2 separate regions of the Homo sapiens genome follow, and region 2 is linked to region 1. The links are contacts of gene promoters, found by promoter capture Hi-C in human tissues and cell types (Jung and others, 2019). All regions are on one chromosome and are shown on one strand. The core of a region is centred on a gene start or on the middle of the fragment in contact, and the rest is flanking DNA. Distances in the headings are between cores, read along the strand shown. Region 1 overlaps LOC105370941 (a long non-coding RNA gene). Region 2 holds the start of KNSTRN (kinetochore localized astrin (SPAG5) binding protein).

What was found. The method cuts DNA at HindIII sites, captures the fragments that hold promoters and counts their contacts. A contact is called where the count stands out against the background at its distance.
Region 2: a contact is called between the fragment with the promoter of KNSTRN here and a fragment that was not itself captured in region 1, in 2 of the 25 tissues and cell types used here (IMR-90 fibroblasts and lymphoblastoid cells).

The regions. Positions count from the first base shown.
Region 1 is chr15:39,784,803-39,791,055 of GRCh38, reverse strand. LOC105370941 (a long non-coding RNA gene) reads right to left here. Exons shown (of 1, transcript NR_135665.1): 1 at 5,439-6,253. Among named protein-coding and RNA genes, the nearest start is that of FSIP1, 5.1 kb to the right of the region's middle. The HindIII fragment of the contact is 5,703 bases long and covers 1-4,581 here.
Region 2 is chr15:40,379,737-40,385,989 of GRCh38, reverse strand. KNSTRN (kinetochore localized astrin (SPAG5) binding protein) reads right to left here and starts at 3,269. Exons shown (of 9, transcript NM_033286.4): 1 at 2,946-3,269; 2 at 2,668-2,762. The coding sequence starts at 3,154. RefSeq lists enhancers at 2,191-2,712, 2,778-2,947, 2,713-3,236, 3,196-3,265, 3,891-4,391. The HindIII fragment of the contact is 15,043 bases long and covers 833-6,253 here.

The DNA.
Region 1 (6,253 bases), core at 481-2,980:
GGGGTAACTATTGCATAGTTAGTACCTAGAAATCCCCCTGACTTCCAACACTTTTTATCTCAAAGGAATGGAGGTGAGGAGTTGGAGAAGATTCATGTGACCATCTTGTTCCTATCCCTGTCAGAATCTCTGAGCAATTAGGCATGATTAGAGAAATGCTGAAAAGTTCACTTGCCCAGAAATAGTTCGCTAGAGGTTTTTTGGTTTTTTTTCTTTTTTTTTTTGAGACGGAGTGTTGCTCTGTCGCCCAGGCTGGAGTGTAGTGGCGCAATCTCCGCTCACTGCAACCTCCGCCTCCCGGGTTCACGCCATTCTCCTGCCTCAGCCTCCTGAGTAGCTGGGACTACAGGCGCCCACCACCACGCCCGCTAATTTTTTGTATTTTTTAGTAGAGACGGGGTTTCACCGTGTTAGCCAGGATGGTCTAGATCTCCTGACCTCGTGATCCGCCCGCCTCTGCCTCCCAAAGTGCTGGGATTACAGGCGTGAGCCACCGTGCCCGGCCCTCGCTAGAGGATTTAACTCAGAAAAAATGACCAATGAATGATAGAAAATTGAATGCATGGATGCAAGTGTCCACCCGAATGCAAAATTCTCACAAATTTGGGTCCAGGTAATGATCTCTAGATTCATTTAAAAAATTGTTGGCAATTTTCACCAAAATACCATCATCTGTAGCAAGCTATACAAGATAGATGAGCATTTAATGCACACCAGATATGAATTGAACCTGATAATTCATCTGCTTTTCTTTCATTCTCCAGCATGGATTGGATGGTTGCTGTTATTTGACATGAAAATACTCATTTTATTAACAAGTGCAATGAAAAATTCAGTATAGTGTCTCAAGAACATATTAATTTCTCTATTTCAACAAAATAAGGAACAGTGCTAGAGAGTTATCTTCCCATTGTTTGACAGATAGGCTGGTAAACTGAAGTCTGCAGAGGTGAAGAGGCTTGCCGTTCCATAACAGAGGTGGGATACATATGCAACTCTCATAAAACCTAAACAAATTCTGTTCTATTGCATCGTTCTATAAAAATAGGGCACTTCTCTTGTGGTTTTGCTTGCTTAATTCTTTGTTCGACAATTGCAGGGACAAGACAGATGGTTGTTACCATTACCCAGATGTTTCTAAACAAGTAATTCTTGCTGCCATGCACGTTGAGCAGATGCCTTTTACATTGTTATGAATGTTGGGTTGAGAAGCAGGTCATTTCCAAAGAGAGCAGAGACTGCTTAAATCAGAAAATCACAGGGTCTCAGAGCTGGAAGTAGTGGTAGAAACCTTTATCTACCTCTTATTTACTAGACAAAGAAACTGAGGTGGAAAGAGGTTAAGAGACTAGGCCCAGGCCACACTGTTCTTGGCAAAGACAGGACAGAAAATCCAGAGATGTGTATTTTAAAATGTGTGTCAGTGATGAATTACAAAAATATAAAACATCACAAATTTTGAACAAAATTAAAGCACTAATTTTAGTTTGCCTATTATGGCAAAATAAGGGGAAAATAAGCCAGCTTCTATTAAGAAAGGAGTTTGGATGATCAAATTTTAAAAATGTAAACAAGAAAACCAAGTCTTCAAAATGATGACTAGTTCCTAGTGTAATAAACACTGTATGTTCAGATAGAAACATTACTTTGGATTCCAGCTAAGAAAAAGATTGTGTAAGAAATAAAGTGAGAAGCTAAGAATGCCAGGATGAGACTTAAACATTGTGGCAGCCTGACCCATGACTGATGAACAAACCCCTGGGGTGGTTTACTTCTTATTTCTTTATGTCTGAGATGTTAACTCTGAGAAAAATCATTTCCTTACCTTGCTGCTTAACACCCTAAATATTTGATTTGAATGTTTCTAATATGGCATCTTAATTATTTTAGCTTCCTTTATTTTTTGTTAAAATATGTACAAAGGTTTACATAATAATGAAGGCTTACATAACTATATACTAAAGCTTCATTTTAGTATTGTAGGAAAACGGCCTGTTGCATAGCAAGATGACCAATGTGTTCCTGTAGCATAGATAAACTCTCATAGAGATGCTTATCTAACCACCCCAGGGGTCATGAGTTTTGCAAGAAGGCCTGAGGCATGACTGGCTGCACATCTTTCCCTAAAATCTTGCTATATAAAAGATGCTTTCTGGAGGGCAGTTGCGGGGATCCACTGTCTCTCTGGCCGCCAGAGACATGGCTTCTGTTTGTAAGCCCTTATTGAATGTTTCTTTCTGAGAAACTGGACTTGTCAGCTTCTTTCATTGGCCTCTCAGCTTCCTTGGCCTTTGGGGGTAGGTTTGCATAGACCTGCTTACCTCAACCAAGTACACAGATCAGGAGATCCAATTTAAAACAACAAACTAACAAACCCCTATGGGATCAGAGAGACCAAGCTCAATACTGAAGTTAGGTTTTGGACTCAGAGACAAGCTTACCTGTAGGTTGAAAGCATGAAGCATGAAACCCAATGCATGGGCAATGTTCAGAATCTGTTGGTTTCAGCCCAGGATTGATAGTTGCAGTGCAATTTCAGCCATTATGCGCAAGCAGTGTCACATCCATTCAGCTGACAGGGGCGAGACACTAATCTCAGTGGGCATCCAGCAACTGAAACTGCAGCTGGCCTTGGGAAGTTTCTGCCAACTCTTTAAATCTTTACAGGTACAGAGTTGCTGCGGGTGACCAAACTTTGTAGCCAGTAAGATCATGAGAAAGTTAAGCAGTCTGTTACTTTGAGGGAATTTCCTTAGAAAAGAAGAGAAACCGATTTTTTTCTCCTTTCTGGTGAGAATGACTCACTTGGCAGAGCTGATTGCTTTAGGGCCCACTTGACATGACACCTTCCCCCTGCAAATGACTCTGGATATTATAACATACCTTCGTTTTCATTGATTTACTTTACTATCTTTAAAAACAACCCTCTAGGCCAGAAACATGTAGCTGCACTGCTATGTGTGTGTGTGTGTGTGTATGTGTGCACTGATTTTTACACAATTTCACAATGTCCTGGAAGTTTGTGGCCCCCTAGGTTGACATTCGGATCGCTCGAGCCAGTTGAATAGTTATATGACAATACATGATCTAACTTCTTTAACTGAAAACAAACCTAAAGTCATCACTGTTTTTGGACCAATAGGCATTGAGAAGTTGTAAGCTTGATCTTTTAAAAAATGGAGACATCCACTGACCAGCAGCTAATTCTGTGCAGCACTCCACAGCAGACAGGGAGAGGAGGGAAAGAGTTCTACAGGGAGAGCATTTTTCAGTCTCTAGCCTGCTGTTTACAAAGGAAGTGCTGGATGTCACTGTTCACAGCCTCCGTGTAGAACAGCTGCAGGGGGCTCCATGGTGCCTCCAGGAGCAATGTCCTCACCACTATTTACCCTCTAAAACATTAACTTGAAGTCAGTGGTTCATCTGTACCACAAGCACCAAGGGACTTGTTAAAAATGCAGATTCCTGGTCTGCATTCCAGACCCACTGAATCATGTAATAGGGACTAGAATCAATATTTTAAATAACACCTGAACTGATCCTTCTCAACAACAAAATCTGACAACCCATTTGAATCGGGTTTATTTCACAGCTTTTAAGTTCTAAAAAATGTACTAAAATAAGGTACTAAGCACATATGAAACATATACTTAACATGTATTTTACTTTCAATAATAATAGCATTAAGCCTGGGCAACATAGGGAGACCTCACCTCTACAAAAAAAAAAAAAAAAATTCAACCGGGCATGGTGTTGCATGCCTGTAGTCCCAGCTACTCATGAGGCTGAGGTGGGAGGTTGCTTGAACCTGGGAAGTTGAGGCTGCAGTGAGCCATGATCATTGTGCTACTGCACTCCAGCCTGGGTGAAAGAGCATGACTTTATCTCAAAAAAAAAAAAAAAAAAGAAAAAGAAAAAAGTGTTACCTGTTCCAGAATCTGATTGTTGTTTTTTTCAGGCTTTATTTACTTCCCTGTTCATGACCCTTGCTGGCATGGATGGCATTGTGGCCAAGCAGGATTGGGAGATGCTGGAGGGAGTACAGTTGGTATAAAAGGGGTACATGGAATAAAACATGTATTTCTTCTTAAGTCTACTGATTTAATGTAAATACAGATGTATGAGAATTTTCAGAGTCTCAAAGTCACCATGGTTTTTTGATATTATTTATAGGTACTAACATTTTAAAAAATGCAGTTTTTTTGAGATCAAATTTTCACTTTTCCTATTTGGGTGGCTATTTAAAGATGCATCCAGGCACAATTCAGACATACAAGATACTTCAGTTCAGTGGTTTCTTGAATTACACCTAAAATCCAAAGGAACGTGTTTCTGAAAGTGGCTGCCAATTTTTTTTTTTAAGAGGACAATCAGCACCATCTAGTGGACACAAATATCTCCTCTTCTAGAATTCGGACCCCTGAGGAGATGGAGGGCAGGCTTTGGAACCTAGGTTGGAATCCCGGTGCCAGTTAGTTCCCCAACGACCTTGGGACAATTACTTACCCTTTAGGTGCTCTGCTTCTCAACTCTAAATCCAGGTAATACTAGTGCCGACTCATAGAATGTTATGAATGAAGTGAAATGATGCTTGGAAGGCAAGTCTGAAACACTTTGTAAATGCAGTTTTTCAATAACACTAAGCATAGATTCACAGGACATGGGAACTATCCAGTGGTAAACACTATTATCTGCTCTCCAGTAGGAATGGCTATTATACACAAAATCCAGTGTGTAGAATCTACGATATGAGGCTTAATGAGATCCCTCTCCTACCATATTGTTACATTCGGTTGAAGTTTATGGTGAGGAAAGGGCAACCGGGGCAACAAGGCTGAAATGGTAGTTGGTGCCCAGATGGCAAACAATGCTCTTGCTCGCTTTCATTCATTCAAATCTGACTCCACTCGGAAGGAGGATGTCAAGAGTAGGGAGAGACTGCAAACAAAAACAAAAGCTAACTCCGAAACTAACACTGCCACTGCCATATGTCACCAACCTGGAATGAGACCAGGGAAATTTTAGCTTCAAATATCTTGACTCTAGAAGAAATTTTTATGAATGACTTTGAAGGGCACAACACTTTCCAGGATGTGTTTGCGATTTTTGAAAATGGAACTGCAGAAAACACAGTATAGACATTTGGTGCTCTCGGACTTATATCCCCGTGCTGTTTTGAGGGTGTCACCTGCAATAGCTGACACAGAAGTATCTGGGGAAATTAAAAACAAATACACAACAAATGCAATTTATTAAAGCTGGCCCTTAAGGCACACACAGCCTCTCGGCAGTTTACAAAATGGAAGCAGCAGGAGGTAAATAAACACGTGAGAGTGACACAGAGACAAAACAATTCAAAATGAGATAAATAGTTTTATGCAAATATAGTCAATAGGGACTTAGTCTGGAAAGGTTACAAACAGTGAAGAGACACAAAGTTTACGTGGAACCCGAATTTTATTTTCACTTGCTTTATATGCATCTTATGTTGCATTTTAAAAACAACAGTTAAAAAAATGAAAACAGCAGTAATCATAGGTCCGCTTTTTCTTAGTTCAGCCCCTTCCCCCCCCGAGAAATTGGGAAGGTATTGTTTTCTTAGTGGACACTATTAGTCACCAAATTAAAAACTGGAAAGAATGGCCTTCGTTTATGGTGTATGAGAACCGTGCAGGCACTTGGCAATGATCTCGTCTTGCCGCTAGGTAAACAGCGGTCGGTGGACGGGGAGCATTGGCATCATCTAGGAGCCTGTTAGTCTCAGGTCTCACCTGATACTGAATCAACATTTTTTTTTTTGAATCAGCATTTTTAACAAGATTCCTCGGTGATTTGTCTGCACATTAAAGTTGAGAAGGCCTAGATTCATTTGATCTCAGGTACACCCCTGGTTGTGTAGTTTATGAAGTCTCCCCAGGTGATTCTAATGCTCTGTGCAGTTAAGCACTGCAAAACTAGTCCAACTTCATTTTTCAAATGAAGAAACTGTGGCCCACAAAAGCTTATGTATTTACCTAAGATAACCTAGCTGTTTAATATCAAAATCCAAATAATGTCATCTCTCTTCTTCATAAAAAAATAAAGCAGGGTTGAGGGGACAGAGGGTAGGGAGTGTGGAGATGGGGATAATTATTTTATACAGGGTGGTTGGGAAAGGCCCTCCTGAGGAAGCGGACGCCTGAGGAAAGAGAGGAGCAAACCAGGTGGATAGCTGGGAAACTGTATTTCAGGCTGGTGTGTGTGTGTGTGTATT
Region 2 (6,253 bases), core at 2,020-4,519, 590 kb before region 1:
GTGAGCCACGATGCCTGGCCAAATCTTTATTTTCATTCTGGCAAATTTCAACATGTGAAGATTAATTCAAAAGAATAAAACTTCCAGGCTAATTGGCAATAAAAACCAAAATTATTTAAACGTGACAGTACAGCATGTTTGAGGGTAGCCAAAAGTTTCATTGAACTGAAAGGTGTAGGCTGTAAAAGTGAACATGGAGATGGACACCAGCAGAGAGCAGGGTGGAAGTTAGCAGGTAAAACATGCCTGAATCCTTGTACCATCTCATTAAGCTCCTCCAAGCACTCTGCACACTCTCCTAAGGCATGACTGAGCTGCTCTGAGTTTTTTTAAACCGTTACTTCGTTGTTTTTACTAGAATGTCTTCCTAACCATTCTAAGGCATCTTTGTGTCCCCATCACCTAGGAAAGTATCTGGCATATGAACAGGGGTTCAATAACTGCTTGTTGAATAAATGAAACACTTCACAGTTCCATGGGTTGTTTCACAGACCATCTCTAAACCACCTGTCTGGTCCCTTCCTCTTCCATGCTGCCTGCCTCTACCACTAGCCCTTTTGTTTACCCTTTGTTAAGTTTAGAGTTTCCCTATTAGGCATTCTAATCTGATCTTCTTGCCAGATAACCAGAGAAATGGCCCTGCCATAACACTCTTCTTCCCCAAAGGAGAGCATTTTCCTCTATCCTTGTGCCAGCCCCGCAACCACACAATCTATCATTTGTGTTCTACAGCAAATTCAAGTAACTTATCTGGAGTTAAGCACCCCCACCCTCACATGCAGGCTTTTCTGGACTTACTCTCACTTTGTTCACTGTAAAATGGCCCCTTTAAGTTTGACCTAACTTAAGAGCCATTACAATCAAATCAAATTGAAGAAATGCAGTACAAATGAAGTATTAAAAGGGTTCTTTCTGAGGTGTCTGTCTGAAGAAAAAGGTAATCTTGGAGGAATATCATCTTCTCCTCTCTCAAGTATTAGTAAGTTTTAAACAATAACAAATCTACTCCATGTAAAATGGAGTTAACAGTCAATTGATCAAAATTAACACTCTTCATTGACTAGAATTGGTTCCAATAATTTGTATTTGCTAAAATCTAGGATTGCACTGTAGGAAAAATTCAGTAGGATTTAACAAAGCTGTCTCTTAAAAATGGGAGACACTGGGAGAGGAACTGGATGGCTGGTGTCAAGGAAGGGAAGGAAACTTGTTTATCATTGTATATGGTTTTCCACCTTTTTTTTTTTCACATGTGCATATATTACTTATCCAGCCCACGCTCAAAATCAAAACAAAAATCCTGGGAGGCAGCCTAAAAATTTGAAACTGTTCCAGTTACATATGATCATAAAGCTGGGACAGAGATAGAAATCAAAGAGATGAACACTTCCAACTTGGCTGAGAGAGCTAGTCACTGCCCACTGACTCAGGGGCACCGCATCTAAGGGAAAGACACAGCAGCTGAGAGACCTGGCTCCAGTTCTTCCAGCAACTCCTAGTCCCCGCTGGTGCCAGGATTACCATTCAGGTGTTCTGCGGCAACACAAGACAACAAACAACCCATTAAGCCTTTGGAGAAAAGCCTATTTACTTCAGAGCTCAATCTTTTTTTTTTTGAGACGGAGTCTCGCTCTGTCGCCCAGGCTGGAGTGCAGTGGCGCAATATCGGCTCACTGCAAGCTCCGCCTCCCGGGTTCACGCCATTCTCCTGCCTCAGCCTCCCAAGTAGCTGGGACTACAGGCGCCCGCCACCACGCCCGGCTAAGTTTTTGTATTTTTTAGTAGAGACGGTGCTTCACCGTGTTAGCCAGGATGGTCTCCATCTCCTGACCTCGTGATCTGCCCACCTCGCCCTCCCAAAGTGCTGGGATTACAGGCGTGAGCCACCGTGCCTGGCCACTTCAGCGCTCCATCTTGCCAAGGTTTATGTACCAGCTGAGTGGAATCATCTGGGAAGGGATCATAAATAGCTACTCCATAATCTCCCACAACAGTTTTCTGATGTCTGAAGCTTACTCTGTACTATAATCTCTAGATTAGGCAGTTCCCCGACTGCAGACCCCATGAGATGACTTTCAACCACAAGCAAAGCAACACAAAGCAGATGGCAAAGCAATTAAAAACTATTTTTAATCATGTCTCTCTCTTCGCCCAAGTTTCTCAAATACTGTGCCTAGGTCTAACCCCTCTCTCCCACTTCACTCAACAAACGTGTATTGAGAATGTGGTAATGAGAAACACGGTGCAGATATAAAGGTGAACAAAGAACCCTAAGTATCCCACTTCTCAAATGATTCTCCTCTTTCCTCCCTGAAAACAAACCCAATCCCTCAAGATAGCCCAAGTCTGGAAATAAGACGATAACCGATTAGAAGGGGATTCCTAGCTTAATGGGAATAACATTGTACAATAACCAACAACTTGAATCTAACTGATGAATACAGTACACATGCGGGCAGAAAAGTGCAGAGCACGTCTAAAATCCTACCACATGGTCCTTCCCTTAACTCCCATCATAAACCTACATAGCCTGGTTATAGGGGGCTCACAGGTTTTCAGGGCCGACGGGACGCCCTTCCCCGTGCCCGCGCCACCCATTCGATCTCCACACTCCCGAGACCATCCCCGGCCAGGCCGCAGTGCCCCGGGCGTGGCTTGGACCCTCACCTGCCGGCTGGCCGCCGCTCAGCGCAGAGGGGGGCTGCAGGCTATACACTGTCTTAACCACACTGGTCATCGTAACGAGGCGGCACGGCTGAACCCTGGAAGGTACAGGATGAATGTTACCCAGCGCTGGGCCACTGGGCCCGAGAGAGTGGAGGGCCCGGGGATAGCGCGACCCGACAGGCCCCGGCTCGGGGTTGGAAAAGAGAAAATCCTCCTTTCCCAGCTCATTCCGTCCTTCCTCCCATCCAGCCCAGTCCCTCGCCCCGGGAGAGCCGAACCCAGGAGCCCGCCGGTCCTGCCCGCAGTCCTTCTCGCTCTCGTTTAAAAGATTCCCTGCAGCAACTGTCGTGCCACCGGCTAAGTCGGCCGCCTGGGTTTCAAATAGAAACTTCCGGTAGCTAGGCGGAAGTGGGTGGGAATCGCACTCTGTAGACAGCCATGTTGTACGGAAAACTCTGTCCAGGGGCGGGGCTTCGGGAGCCGCCATACTGTACGGAAGGTTCGCTCAGAGGCCAGAGCCAGACCTAGCGAAAGGTGTTGGAGCCCCCAGGTCTGGGCAGAGGAGGAGGGTGATGCAATTTGTAGGCTTGAATGGAGCTAATGAGCTACCAGCGTCATATTCCGGGATGGAGACGCAAACGTGGCGACATTTAGGGTCCATGTCACAATCCTCTTTATTTAGTTTGGGATTGTTAGGGATATTGCCAGGAGCACAGGTTATTTGGATGAAAACTACACGTTACAGGTGGAGAGTGGCAGGTGAGGCTTGAAGAAAAGGACCTATGGGCTGAGATACCTGAGGCACCTACCTGAGGTCCTAATTTTAATAGCACTTATCCAGATTTTCAGTAGTGATTCAAAGCTACTCCCAATAAACAGGGTAGCTTCCATTACTAAATGCACTAGCTCATTCATTTCATCTGGCATTTATTGAGTACCTGCTGATTACCCAACAGTGTTCTCAGTGGGTGGAAGGGAGTGAGGGAGGGCAAATATCAAGATTGACCTTGGCTCTGCCCTCCTGGAGTTTACAACTTAGAAAACAGACAGTGAACAAATAATCACATAAATAAATATATATTTACGGATTGTGGTGAAATTGTGAAGAAGGCTGGGCACAGTGGCTCACAGCTGTAATTATAGCACTTTGGGAGGTGGAGGCGGGTGAATTGCTTGAGTCCAGGAGTTTGAGACCACCCTGGGCGACATGGTGCAACCCCGTCTCTACAAAAAATACAGAAATTAGCCAGGTGTCGTGGCATGCTCCTGTAGTCCCAGCTACCCTGGAGGCTGAGGTGGGGGAATTATGTGACCCTGGGCGGGGCAGAGGTTGCAGTGAGCGGAGATCGCGCCACTGCACTTCACCCTGGGTGACAGAGCGTGATCTCAAAAATCAAACCAAAACACACACACTATGAAGAAAAAGTACAAAATCGTATAAGATAGAAAAGCAGGGAAACTTAGATTATATTGGGGGCTCAGGGAAGACCTCTCTGAGATGATGTTTGATTAAGGAAGGAGAGGGAGTTAATTTCATTGGGGAAAGGGGAAAATGCAAAGTCCCAAGGCAGAAATGGGTTCTTCTATAGGCACAGAAAGATAGGAAGAGAGTGGTACAGATAAAGCTGGAGAAATAAGCAGTCAAAAGACAGATTTTACAGGCCAAGGTATAGAGATTAGATTTTATCTAAAAGTAATGGAAAGCCACTGAAGTATTATAGCAGGAGAGTGTCATCCAATTTATATTTTATTTTATTTTATTATTATTTTTTGAGACAGGGTCTCACTCTGTTGCCCAGGCTGGAGTGCAATCATAGTTCACTGCAACCTTGAACTCCTGGGCTCAGGAGATCCTCCCACCTCGGCCTCCTGAGTAGCTAAGACTAAAGGTGCCTGCCACCAGACCCAGCTAATTTTTGTAGAGATGGGGTCCTGCTATGATGCCCAGGCTGGTCTTAAACCCCTGGCCTCAAATGATCCTCCCACTTCAGCCTCCCAAAGTGTTGGAATTACAGGCATGAGCCACTGTACCTGGCTCAATTTATATATACTTTATATATATATTCTTTTCTTTCTTTTTTTTTTTGGAGACGGAGTCTCACTCTGTTGCCCAGGCTGGAGTGCAGTGGCACGATCTCGGCTCACTGCAACCTCCGCCTCCTGAGTTAAAGCGATTCTCCTGCCTCAGTCTCCCGAGTAGCTGGGTCTACAGTGCCACCACCACGCTTGGCTAATTTTTTATATTTTTAGTAGAGACGGGGTTTCACCATGTTGGCCAGACTGGTCTCAAACTCCTGACCTCAGGTGATCTGCTCGCTTCGGCCTCCCAAAGTACTGGGATTACAGGCGTGAGCCACCACGCCCAGTCCTTTTTCTTTTCGAATAATTGGGCTTGAATAATTGTGTGGATAGAGTCACTATTTTCTGCTGGGGGAGATTGAGAGTTGGGTTTTGAACGTGGAAAACCTCGACATATCTTTGAGGCATTCCGGTGGAGTGGTCAAGTAGGCAATTGGAAATACAGGCCCTGAGCCCAGAAGAGAGCCTGGATTGGAGATACACCCTTGGGAGTTGTTGACATATGAATGTACTTAAAATCTTGATATTTAGGAGTTCGAGACCAGCCTGGCCAACATGATGAAACCCCGTCTCTGCTAAAAATACAAAAAAATGGCCAGGCACAGTGGCTCACACCTGTAATCCCAGCACTTTGGGAGGCTGAGGTGGGATCACTTAAGGCCAGAAATTCGAAACCAGCCTGGCCAACATGGTGAAACTCCATCTCTACTAAAAATACAAAAAACTAGCCAGGCATGGTGGTGCATGCCTGTAATCCCAGCTACTTGGGAGGCTAAGGCAGGAGAATGACTTGAACCTCAGAGGTGGAGGTTGCAGTGAGCCGAGATGGTGCCACTGTACTCCAGCCTGGGTGACAGAGCGAGACTCTGTCTCAAACAAAATAAAATAAAAAATAAAATAAAACCTTGATATTTGATGAGCTCAAGAGAAGAAGTGTGCAGAGAGCCTTTGGGCCAAGGACAGGGACACCTGCATTTAAAAGTTGCAATGGTAATAAGGTGCTTGCCAAGAAACCTGATAAAGAAGTGCCAGAGAGGTGAGAAGAAAACAAAAAAGGGTGGTGTTCCAAAATCCAAGGAGGAAGTGGCAAGCTGCTGAAGGAGGGAGTGGTGAACTATTGAAAATAGTTGAAAGGGCAAGCAGAATGAGAACGAAAAGCATCCAATGAATTTAGCAACAGAGAAGTCATGATGAGTCTAGCAAGAGGAATGCTGGTGGAGCGTTTGGAGTGGCAGTCACATGGGCATGGGTTGAAGAGTACGTGGGAGATGAGGAAGCAGAGATGGCAGAACTCCAGGCGTCTGTTGCAAAAAGAGCAGAGCAACTGGGCAGTAACTGGAGATGGGTTATGGGGGTCAAAGGAAGCTTTCCTTAAAGCTGTGGATATGTGTGCTGATAGGAACGAGCCAGCAGAACAGAGGGAAAGGATACTCAGGAGCAAGGAAGAAGGAAGATGGGATCCAGAGTAGCATCTTTAAATTCCTTTATTCATGCGCCCCCACAAAAT